Regions from separate parts of the Homo sapiens genome. Here all the other regions are linked to region 3. The links are contacts of gene promoters, found by promoter capture Hi-C in human tissues and cell types (Jung and others, 2019). All regions are on one chromosome and are shown on one strand. Each heading gives the region's core, a stretch centred on a gene start or on the middle of the fragment in contact. The rest is flanking DNA. Distances are from core to core; before and after follow the strand shown.

The links. Contacts are between HindIII fragments. The study calls those that stand out against the background at their distance.
Region 1: a fragment that was not itself captured here is called in contact with the fragment with the promoter of IFT27 in region 3 in 1 of the 25 tissues and cell types used here (small bowel).
Region 2: a fragment that was not itself captured here is called in contact with the fragment with the promoter of IFT27 in region 3 in 2 of the 25 tissues and cell types used here (mesenchymal stem cells and spleen).

The regions. Positions count from the first base shown.
Region 1 is chr22:36,359,630-36,363,428 of GRCh38, forward strand. The region is part of intron 1 of MYH9 (myosin heavy chain 9); the gene reads right to left. Among named protein-coding and RNA genes, the nearest start is that of MYH9, 26 kb to the right of the region's middle. RefSeq lists an enhancer at 3,070-3,799. The HindIII fragment of the contact is 7,297 bases long and covers 1-3,799 here.
Region 2 is chr22:37,154,369-37,158,566 of GRCh38, forward strand. It overlaps a transcript of IL2RB not described here. Among named protein-coding and RNA genes, the nearest start is that of IL2RB, 6.6 kb to the left of the region's middle. The HindIII fragment of the contact is 5,288 bases long and covers 305-4,198 here.
Region 3 is chr22:36,773,860-36,777,689 of GRCh38, forward strand. It overlaps IFT27 (intraflagellar transport 27), which reads right to left and starts at 2,260. Exons shown (of 7, transcript NM_001177701.3): 1 at 1,815-2,260. The coding sequence starts at 1,848. RefSeq lists silencers at 1,822-1,881, 2,012-2,061 and enhancers at 1,960-2,523, 2,302-2,561, 3,089-3,652. The HindIII fragment of the contact is 3,270 bases long and covers 1-2,897 here.

The DNA.
Region 1 (3,799 bases), core at 786-3,285, 410 kb before region 3:
CTTCTAGCACCCCCTGATTAACCAGTGTAGAGGCACCTACCACCTACTACCAGTCCGACATACCAGAAAGAATCTTGGCTGGCATGGCCTCTGCTCTTGCTAGGATGCCATGAGAAGGTCGTGTGCCCTCCTGGAATGCTACGCCTCCATCTATCAAGTAGGTGCTGGCAACATCAACCTTTGGTATCAACTCAGAAGTGACAGACAGAAGTGGAAAAACCACAGCCATGTGAGGTCCTGGTTCTGCAAACCCTAAGATAAATGCTTGTAATGTACCACAATGGAGTTTATGGCTTTGGGGCCAGACAGACCTGGATTGGAGTCCCAGGTCCCCTGCTCACAATTCCTGTGACCTTGAAGCTGTTAGCACCCCAATTTCCTAGCTTTAGAATGAGGACAAACACCACCACCACCACCACCACCACCACCACCACCACCACCACCACCTAACATCAGAAGAGTTGTAGCTCAAGCTCCCAGTGGAGAATGGCATGATAGGAATTTCCCTCCCAACTCCTCTATCTTGTGATTCTGAGCTATTTAATCCCCATTCTTCCTAGGAATGACACCTGGGCCCTCTGAAAATCAGTTACCAGGAGTCTAGTGACTCTTTCTGCAGGTTATATCCATCCATAGAGGACAGTTCTCAGGGACAGTGACTATAAAGACAGCAATTTGCAGAGGGAAGAGGGTTTCGTGGCCGAGTAAGGATGGAATGCCGTCTCCCTATGGCCCTCTTGCAATCACAATATGCACAAAATGTTGTAGGAAGCAGCCTGCAAAAAGAAATCTGCTTAACTTAGGCCGGGCACAGTGGCTCACACCTGTAATCCCAGCACTTTGAGAGGCCGAGGCGGGCGGATCACGAGGTCAGGAGATCGAGACCATCCTGGCTAACACGGTGAAACCCCGTCTCTACTAAAAATACAAAAAATTAGCCGGGCATGGTGGCGGGCACCTGTAGTCCCAGCTACTCTGGAGGCTGAGGCAGGAGAATGGCGTGAACCTGGGAGGGGGAGCTTGCAGTGAGCCGAGATCGCACCACTGCACTCTAGCCTGGGCAACAGTGTGAGACTCCATCTCAAAAAAAAAAAAAAGAAAGAAAAAGAAAAAAGAAATCTGCTTAACTCCATCCCAGGAATATCCTGCAGGAAAAACCTCTCTCCATGCTGGTCTGGGAAATGCTGGTCTGGTGAGATGGGCACAAAGCCTGTGGCAGAAGAGCTGGATTTGAGTCCAGCGAGGTGCTGACCAGCTGTGCAATCCTGCAGGCACCACCCAGGCCTCGGCTTTCCCACCTGCAAAATGTCCTATCTGCTCACAGGTATGCACAAGGCCACTCTCTGCAATACACACCAGGGCTGTCAGAGCAGTTATCTACAGGGTGGGTCAATAAAGTGGCTCCTCTGTCACCCAGGGCTAATAACCTACAGCAGCCTCGACCTAGGCCCTCACTCTCCCCAGGCTAACAAGGAGTGGGGGGCTCCTCCCAGCTGCCAGTGCCCAGGAGGTAGGAGCTGAAGACTGCGGGTGGGCCCCCCTTCCCTTTCCACCTCAGGAATGTTGTTTGCTTACAGAAGAAGCTGGAACTTGTTTCCATTAGCAGTATTCCAACCCAAGCCTGTGTTGATGCTTAGCAGATAAGAAAACCAGAGAGGAACTTAGTGCCCGGGCCCCAGAGCCTGCCCCATCTGCAGGTTCTGCCTTTGCCTCCTTGAAGCGGGCATGGAGGGGGGCTCAGGTGACTGCTGAAAGTCCAGGAAACAATGAAAGATGATGGCATTTGCCTGTCCAAGGGAGGGCCTGTGGTCACTTTCACTTTGCCTGGCACCGAAGGAAACTCAGGCTATCAAAAACAACACCAGTACGTATTTCAAATCATGTTGTACACAATGGATATAAACAATTTTTGTCAACTTAAAAATTAAATGAACAATTTCTTTTAAAAAAAAAATGACACCAGAAACCAGAATGTGGTACATAGAGTCCCTCCTCCTGCATGGGAAGGGGTGGGGGCAATAGCTTGGGACAGGCTGGAGGAGATAAACTGGGGCAGCTAACCCAGGATCTTATCAGCCATTTAGGAATGTGGACTTTATTCTAGGGATAATTGGGGAGGAGCAGAGGTGACATCAGATTTGTATTTTAAAGTAATTGGCTGGGGGTGTACGGTGGCTCACGCCTGTAATCCCAACACTTTGGGAGGACAAGGCAGGTAGATCACGAGGTCAGGAGTTCAAGACCAGCCTGGCCAACATGGTGAAACCCCATCTCTACTAAAAATACAAAAATTAGCCAGGCGTGATGGTGTGCGCCTGTAATCCCAGCTACCCGGGAGGCTGAGGCCAAGAATTGCTTGAACCCAGGAGGCAGAGGTTGCAGTGAGCCGAAATTGCGCCACTGTACTCCAGCCTGGGGGACAGAGCGAGACTCTGCCTCAAAAATAAAAAAAACAGAAATCATCCTCCCTTACCTGCATGGAGGGGGCAATGAGAAGTCAGTGGTTGGAAAATACTGGGGACTTGCAAGGAGGGAGCTTCCAATCTAAGAGAAGAAAAGACAGTTCCCTGACCAGGCTAGGTGGAGAGTGATTAAATGACACGAGAGGGACAAGTGCAGCCATAGACTTTACCCTCTGATCTCCTACTCCATAGAGCCTGGCTCGAGGAGAGTCCTGGAATCACCGTCCTACGACAGTGAGAAGTGACCAAGCAATCCCAGGAGCTCCAGGGCCAGTGTTTCCAGAGCATCTTAGGCACAGATCTCATGTGGCATGTGTCACACAGACTACACAATAAAGTGTCCAATGGGGTGTCCTCCACTAAGATACCAACTTCAGGACCACAGAGACATGGCTTTAGATCCTCAGCACAGAAACCATTTCTGAGTCGCTCTGTTGCCCGGGCTGGAGTGCAGTGGCACAATCTTGGCTCACTGCAACCTCTGCCTCCTGGATTCAAGTGATTATCCCGCCTCAGCTGGGACTACAGGTGCATGCCAGCACGCTCGGCTAATTTTTGTATTTTAGTAGAGATGGGGTTTCACCATGTTGGCCAGGATCGTCTTGAACTCCTGACCTCAAGTGATCCACCTGCCTCAGCCTTCCAAAGCGCTGGGATTACAGGCATGAGCCACTACACCCGGCCTGAAACCATTTCTTAATGAATAAATCAAACAACCAATGAGCCAGGGCAGAAAGCAGCAAAAGTTTGAGGCCAGCCCTGCCATCACCCCAGAATGATAGCCCGCCCAGCATGGATAGAAGTGTGCCCCCTACAGCCTTTATAACCCCACCCCAATGCCTTCCACCAGTGCCTCTCAACCATCTTTCCAGCCACACCTCTCTTATCCCCTGCTACAACCCTCCATTCCAGTCACTAGAGCACACTCCCCAGAGCAGCCTTTGCTTCAGCTGTCACCCAGAGACAAGCTGGAGGGCCCATCTCCCCAATTCTCCACAGACTGAGAGTCCCCAAAACCAAGTGGACATGCCATCGCCCCCAGGCAGCCTCTCCTAGTATGAATTACTCATAGTATGAATTACCCTAGTATGAATTACTCACCCTTCTCCCTCCTCCCCAACAGGCCCAGCGCAATCTGCCTTATACAGAACCATGGCTTCATTGCCTGTGTCCTCTGCTGTCTCTTAGAACTCTCTAGAGGCAGGAACTGTCTCCCCAACCCTCTTGCTCTTGCCCAGGGTGCTGCAGAGAGAGCATCAATGCTTGTTGAAAATAACTGAATTGTTGAAAATGCTTGCAAGTATTTTCTGGGAACCTGGCAGTCCAAGAGAATGACC
Region 2 (4,198 bases), core at 1,699-4,198, 380 kb after region 3:
AATGGGTCCCCAGGCCATGGCGTGCACCCTCCTCCCGGCATCAGCTCGGGTCTGCTTCCCAGCCTCCCTTGCAGTGAGCTGGGGCTCCAGAACCAAGTCTGGCTAATGGGATGTGGGAGGAAGTGATTTATTCTACTTCTAGGCCTAAAAAAAATCTCACCTATGATCTCCTGTGTCTCTTAATCCCTCTATCTCTCTTTTTTTTTCTTTTTTTTTTTTTGTTTTTTAGACGGAATCTTGCTCTGTAGCCAGGCTGGAGTGCAGTGGCGCGATCTCGGCTCATTGCAAGCTCCGCCTCCCCGGTTCAAACAATTCTCCTGCCTCAGCTTCCCGAGTAGCTGGGATTACAGGCACACACCACCACACCCAGCTAATTTTTGTATTTTCAGTAGAGATGGGGTTTCACCATGTTGGCCAGGACGGTCTCGATCTCCTGACCTCGTGATCTGCCTGCCTTGGCCTCCCTAAGTGCTGGGATTACAGACGTTAGCCACCACGGCCGGCCATCCCTCTATCTCTTTCTCTCTCTCCCCTCCCCTGCCAGAATCCAGTGAAGTTTTGGGTAGAGGGGCTGGAGTCCCTTGAAGGACAGGCCCTCACCCCTCCTCAGACAATTCACACTGGGCTATAACTTGAATGAAAAATAAACCTCTATTGTTGGGCCTCTGAGACCTGGGGACTGCTGTTTCTGTTTTCTCTGACTCATACAGTCTGTCCCCCAGGTGCTACAGCTGAACATAAAACCAGGTGAGGAGGGGTGAGACAGTACGCCAGCAGAAGCCCAGAGGCATGGGTGGCCAGCAGGGGTGTGCAGAGAGGTGCACCTGCTTTCTTCAGCCCCTGCCCTGCTCAGAGCCGTGTCATCTCCCACCTCAGCAGGCCCATGGTGGCCTCCGCCCTGGTCTCCCTGTTTCTATTAATACTCCTGACTCTCTGGTCTGTTCTCCACTCAGCGGCCAGAGCAACCTTTCCCAAACTCAAATCACGTCATTTCACCCCCCAGCCACTCCCCATCATACACACTCAAACCTTCCCAGTGCATTCACAGTAAAATCCAAACTCTCAGTCTTGACCCACATGTCCTACAGGGACTGCCCCATCTTCATCTCTGACCCTGCCTCCTGTGCTTTCTCACTCTGTCAGGGCTTTGTGCATGCTGAGCCTGCTCTTCCCTTGCCATTTTACAGGCCAGGAAACCAGGCCTCATGAGTCATCCTACCAGAATGTGGCAGAGCCAGGATTAGAACCTAGGTCTGTCCCAGAGGACATCCGATTCTCTCTGAGGCAACCTGAGATGTAATCCAGAAGCTTCTCTGATGGCAGAGCCCTGACAGAGCCCACTCGGGCCTACCCAGACCTGGGTCTCAGGAGTGCTGGGGTTTGGACCCAGCCTCCTCCACGAGCTCCACGCCTTGCTCCTATAACTACTTCTCTTACGTCTTCCACATCCCCACCTGACCCTCTGCGCTGCATCTTCATGGGTCCCACTGGGAACAAACCGCCTCATACCCTCTGTTTCCATGCACCCAGTCCCACAGCCCTCCCACCACTGGACCCAGACCCCTCTTTCACAGGGGCCATGGGACAAGGGCATATTGGGGTCTTCCAGCCCTGATGTCCTTGGGCTGTCTTTTTTGGGGCCAAGCCAGACTGCATCCTCCTCAGTCCTGGTATCTGCCAAACGCCCTACCCGTCCTCCCTCTGCTCACTGGAGTGCTTGGCCCTTGCGCTCAGCCTCCCTCTCCACTCCGCCTCCCAGGAGATGTCAGGGTCCACACTGTAGCCTCCAGCCTCCTGTTCCCTCTGAACTGCTCCATACCAGTCCCACACCCAGGCCTGCACTTGCACCCTGCCATCATTCTGACCTGTGTTAACCAAGACCCCTTGAACTTCCACCTCAGCTCACCCGCGTGCTGCCATCACCGCCTCCACTGTACAACAGTGTCCCAGTTAGGATGAAGTTCAGCTGCGTGTGTCCAAAGAGAACAGAAGAAGAAAACAGTGACCTAAAATAAGAGAGGGCTTTATTTCTCTCTTACATAAAAGAAGTCCAAAGGGAGGCCACCCAGGCTAGGTGGGGTGGCTTTATGATGTCAGGATCCTGAGCTAAATCTGGCTTGCTACTAGGGTCTCTTCAATATCCTTCTCCCATCTCCTCATAGACCAAGAGAGCTATTCAAGCTCCACCCATCACCTCTGCGTTCCTGCAGATGGAAGGGAAAGGAAGGAGAGAGGGAGGGCTTGCCTCTGCCTGTTAAGGACCCTTCCCCAAAGCTGCCGTAGCCACTTCTAATGTACATCCCATTGGCTACGCCTGAGTCACATAGCCAACCAAGCTGCAGAGGAGGCTGGGAGATGTAGCCAGCTATAAGTAGAGGGCACACGGGCAGGGGAGAGCAGGTTTGGGGGTGCCATTCACTGTCTCTGCCACCGCCTGTCCTCTGCCATTGTGAAGACCTCCAGTATCTCCAGGGCCACCTCCCTTCCTGCCCTCCCTGGCTCAGCCAGCTGACACTGTCACCCACCCTCAAGTCCTTGTGTTCCGCCCACCCCTGCTCGGTGCTGTGACCTGTCTTCTGGAAAGTCAGCAGGTAGCCGAGTCCCCAGCTGGAAAAAAAGTCCTGCCCCCACAGTGCCAGGCCTCACCAGTGACCTGGTTTTGAGTCCTGGTCCCTGGTCAGGAGGACTATGGTATACATAATTTGGTGTCTGACCCTCCGCCCAGTCCCCATCAGACTGTGGGGTACCCCTCATGACAAATGAGGATCACAAAGCTGCAGGGGCCCACAGAGGGGCCAGAGCAGAACAAGGAGAAAGAGCAGGCTAGCGGCCGACTTCCTGAGGGCTGTCCTCCGAGCATGCCCCTCTGCTGACACCTGCTCTTCACTGGAGGCGCCCCACCCACCAGTCCCCAAGACAGACTGTGGCCATTCTCCCTGACTCCTTCCCTCCCTCACCCCCTCCTTCCAAGCCATCACCCTTACTTCTGCTTTGCCACAGCAGCCACCTCCACGCCAGCCCCCCAGGCTCCAGACCTGAAGCCCCACGTTCTTCCCTGTTCATCCGGGAGCTGCCTGCTTCATAGCCACACCAGCACCAGCGCCCTGAGCAGCTCCTATCTTGTGCAAACCATGCCATTCCTTACCAGGATCGCGCCAAGGTGACCAGCTGTCCCACTGTGCCTGGGACTGAGGGGGGTTTCCAGAACATAAGATTTACAGTGATATTCCTAGGACAAAGTTGGTCACCATATTCCCACCCTACTTACTCAGACTAATCAGCTCCCCGATTTAAAACCAGTCCTTCCCTGATCTCCAATTCTGGCCAAGGCAGATTCTGGGCACAAGCCAGTTACCATATCTCATGTCAGAGCCTTGCTTATGAGTCTACACCAGGAGCTCTTGGACAACAGGAACAGTGTGGGATTCATCCACACCACTCCAGAACCCAGAAAATTACCTGACATACGGACAGTGTCAATATGAGGGGAAGGAAGGAAAAAAGGAAAAGAGAAAGAATCAAAAGTGCTAAGTCCCTAATACCCTGAAGAGTCCTGAGAATACACATTAAAAACACCAGGATAGCATATTTGAAGTTTCAAAAGCTTTGCCATCAAAGGCAGGTTGAAAAGGCGAGTCACCCTGCTGGCGTGGGCTTCAAGCATCTCCCTGGAAGGCAATCTGACATCTACCAACATCTCTGACACATGACCCAGCAATTCCACACCTAAAACTCATCAACAGAGTGACCCATGTTGAACACGTGTGTACAAAGTAACTCCTGCAGTCACGGGACCCGAGGCCAACAAAATGCGCATCCATAGGGGACAGGTGATGAGCAAATTAGGGAACTTCCATCCAGTGGAATGCCACGTAGCTATGCCAAGATAGGAAGGGGAGGGCTGGGCGCGGTGGCTTATGTCTGTAATCCCAGCACTTTGGCAGGCTGAGGCGGGCGGATCACGAGGTCAGGAGATCGAGACCAGCCTGGCCAACATGGCAAAACCACGTCTCTACCAAAAATAAAAATTAAAAAAAAATTAGCCGGGCGTGGTGGTGGGCACCCCGTAGTCCCAGCTATTCAGGAGGCTGAGGCAGAAGAATCACTTGAACCCGGGAGGCAGAGGTTGCAGTGAGCCAAGATTGCGCAACCGCACTCGAGCCTGGGTGACTGAGCAAGACTCCGTCTAAAAAAAATA
Region 3 (3,830 bases), core at 1,010-3,509:
AATCCCACAGGGTTGCTATGAGGATTCAATGAGACCACCTGTATTGAGGGTCTAGCAGAGCTGATGCACCCAAAGCGCCAGTAAGTTAGCTCCATGATGAAAACCGAATTTAAAAAGAACCCAGAGAGAAGCCCATTTAAAAAAAAAAGTAACTTCAGAAAATAATGTTCCCACCTTATCCATAAGGAAATTAAAGCTCAAAAAGTGCTTCGTCCAAGATGACACAGCCAATAAGAGGAACAGGCAAAATTACTTTTGTTACACAACACTGCCTCCTCTGGTGCTCTGGAAACTGGAGATTCTCCTGAGAACCATTAATTTATTTTGCTCCAGTATGATTCAGTTACTACTGTCAGTCATCTTTCTGTGTGACCCTTTTATTTTCAAATTATAAAAGCCATTAAAAATATTATCATTTATTCTCAGTCTGGAAGAGGGGAATTTTTTAAAACAGGAATCTCTTTTTCTCTATATAATTTCTCACCACTTCTTTCCTGAGCTGGCCAGGGAAGCCTGGAAAGGTCACAGGTTTCAACAGAAACACGAGTTAAGAGTTTTGGAGTTGGCCAGATCTAGGGGCTGAAATCCTGCATAGGGCCTTCACTAGGGGTTGACCTTGGCTGACATCTCTCAGTGCCTCAGTAAGATCAGAACAATCCAGTACCTGGCCGGGCGCAGTGGCTCATGCCTGTAATCCCAGCACTTTGGGAGGCCGAGGTGGGTGGATCACCTGAAGTCAGGAGTTCGAGACCAGTCTGGCCAACATGGTGAAACCCCAGCTCTATTAAAAATACAAAAAAAAATTAGCCGGGCATGGTGGCTTGCGCCTGTAATCCCAGCTACTTGGGAGGCTGAGGCAGGGGAATTGCTTGAACCAGGGAGGTGGAGGTTGCAGTGAGCCGAGATTGCGCCACTGCCCTCCAGCCTGGGCAACAGCGTGAGACTCCGTCTCAAAAAAAAAAAAAAAAAAGAAAAACAATCCAGTACCTAGCCCAGTGTGCTATGGTGAGACGATTACATGAAATATGTGTGCTTCACATGCAGTAAGCACTCAGTAACATGCATATGTGTTTCGCAGTCTATAATCCAAAATATTGTTTTTCTAAATGTGCAGACTGATACAAGGGGTACACTACAAATGTGCATGCCACATATTCACATATTCATCCATTCTAAAAGTATTTATTGAGTACCTACTATGTTCCAGGCATTGTTCTGGGTGCTTGGGATGTATCAGTCAACAAAACAAAGATTCCTGCCTTTGGGAGACTCAACATTTATGCCCTTCTTGGAGTGGGGCAGCACAGTAACTTTGGGTCTTAAAGACAACACACAAGTGCCTTTTGCAAACTCTGGTCACTACACTCAGGTCACCGTTATCAGAGGGGGTGAGGTCGGGGGAAAAATCCCATAGTAAAGACTACCAAAGTCACTGATGCCTAACTTTGGGGTACAGTATATGTTTAGCTGAAGCACTCAAGGTTTGCTTAAGCTTTGTTTGTTTTGTTTTGTTTTAACAAGTCTGCTTCTCCAGAGTTGTAACTAGTGATTTTTTAACGAGTCACCTCAACTGGTGAAGGTGGTCTCAGAGTATGTGACAGGGAGCAGGGGGAAATCCACTGGAGCTGCGAAGTGCCCTGGAAGATCATTCTTCCACGCCTAACGTAATTTACTGTATCAGTAATTGCAGTAACTCGCCTTTGGGAGAGAGAAAGGAAAAGGTAGGCAATTTAGGTGAACAAAAGCTCTGGATGAATTATGAAGGCTCTGGACTCCAGAGACCACCGTATTCAAGCGCAAGTTTTCAGACTCACCTGCCAGGATGCATTTGGCTGCCAGCTTCACCATGGTAACCAACACTCCCGCGAGCCGTACCCAGAGGACAAGAGCGGCTGCTAGAGACGCGAGTGGGTGGGCTTCGGGCCCTGGGCTGGCCTGGGACGGGAAGGTGGGGAGGGGAGGGCTGATCTCAAGGGTCAGTGGCCGCGACGGGACTGGGGATGACCGAGCCCGGCCCTTCTGGGCCGGGGGCGGATATCGGGCGCTGGGGGCGGGTGGGCAGGGGAGGGCTCCAGGTGGGCCCGGCTCGAGGCCTGACACGGCAGTCTGAAAAGGTGCAAGCGAGCGGACACGGCCTGTGCTCCCCGCCCAGCCCCTCAGCACAGCCCTACCCAGAGGGTTCAAGGAAGGACGATCCGGCTCTCCTCCGATCACAAGTACCGGGCCGGATGCACTCTCCAAGCAACCATAGCCCACCTGCCCCGCCTCCTCCTCCTCCTCGCTGACCCTCGATTGGTTGCCGCCAAAAGCTCCCACCCTCAAGGTCTCACAAAAATCCAATGGGAGTAGAGAGCTGGGATAACAGCCTTTTCTTGAGATGCAATTCGTAGAGTTATCAGTTCTTCAAGTTCAGTCTGCTTGACGAGTGGTTGTAATTGACGTCAACCAGCTTTATATCCCGCCCCCGCTGCGCCTGAGAGTCCCGAGATAAAGAAGCCTCCACGTCAAGCAGTCAGAAGCGGTGACAAGAGAAGCTTTCTGATTGGTCAGAGTCTGGCTTGACCCATCTTCGGGAGGAATAGGGATTCGCCACTCCCGCTGTCCTTCTAGAAGTGGGTTCGCCTACAATGGGGCAGGTTGGGCTCTAGGCGGTCTGGAGCGGCGCCTGCGCAGTGGGCCAGGCCGCCGCTGTAGAGGTCGTTTTGACTTGCTCTGACTTCGCGCGGTTCTCGCGGCTTCCCCGGTTCCCGGGTTCTGCACAGCGCGGCTATTAAAGTGCATGGAGAAGTGCAGTCCTTGCCCCGCATCCCGCAGGGAAATCTCATTTTAAAAGCTCAAAGATGTAATGAGCGTTAAAATCTAAAATATGAAGGTGTTTTATTAAAGTGATGTTTGTGAACAAAGGGAGAACAAATACACTTTGATGGGGCTAAGCGGTGAGACTCGGAAACTTGAAGTCGTACTTTGCTCTTAGTCCATTTACTCTCTGCAAAAGGAGAATGCATCACTAACCTCGTTTGCCCGTCACCCAGGGAGGCTCTCTGTACGCGTTTACTGGGTTGGGGGTGCCTCTTGCACGTGGTTAGGGGGTCAGAGACCTAAATCCCTGGCCTGGACAAGTCACCTCATCCCTCAGCCTCAGGATGGGCCTAGGAGAACCCGCCTTGTGGGGTGGTTGTGGAGATGGAAGGAGAGAAACGTATGAGTGCCTGGGAGATAGTAGGTGCACACGTGATTGTGGGGTGGATGGGAGAGCGGAAGCTTATCTGGACAGATTTGGTTTATCATCACTGTCACTGGTTGGCCGAATGTACCCCTTGTTCTCACTTTCTCAGGGCCCCTGGGATTCTGATGGCTGATGCTGAAGGGAAGAGCAGCCCCTCAGCAAAGGTGCCTGTGCGAAAGTTCCACATTCCCTCCAGACACCTAGAACATTCCACCTCTCCGCCACTCTGCATCTCAGAGTGGCTGCCAGCCTTGTGTGGGGGAATAAACACACACACTCTATGAATGGCTGATGGTTTCAGCCCCGAATCCAGAGTAAATGCAAGTTGTCTGAGATGTTCTTTCCTTGGGATTCATTCCTGGCGCTACGGTAAAGGTCTGTTTCTCCTTCATTTCTCGTAACTGCTTTTCTTCTTTGGTGACATCACGTGAGTCTGTCTCAGACATCCAGGTCTGAGTGAGCAAAAAGCCTCTTTCTGGTCTTCTGCCTTCCTCTTGCCGGCTCCCCTCCAGGCCAACCTGTTCACCATGAGTGACCCTGTTAATCCCTTAAAGGACCCCATTTGGTGAGTCACCCTCCCGAGGCAGCTCCACGTAGCTAAGAC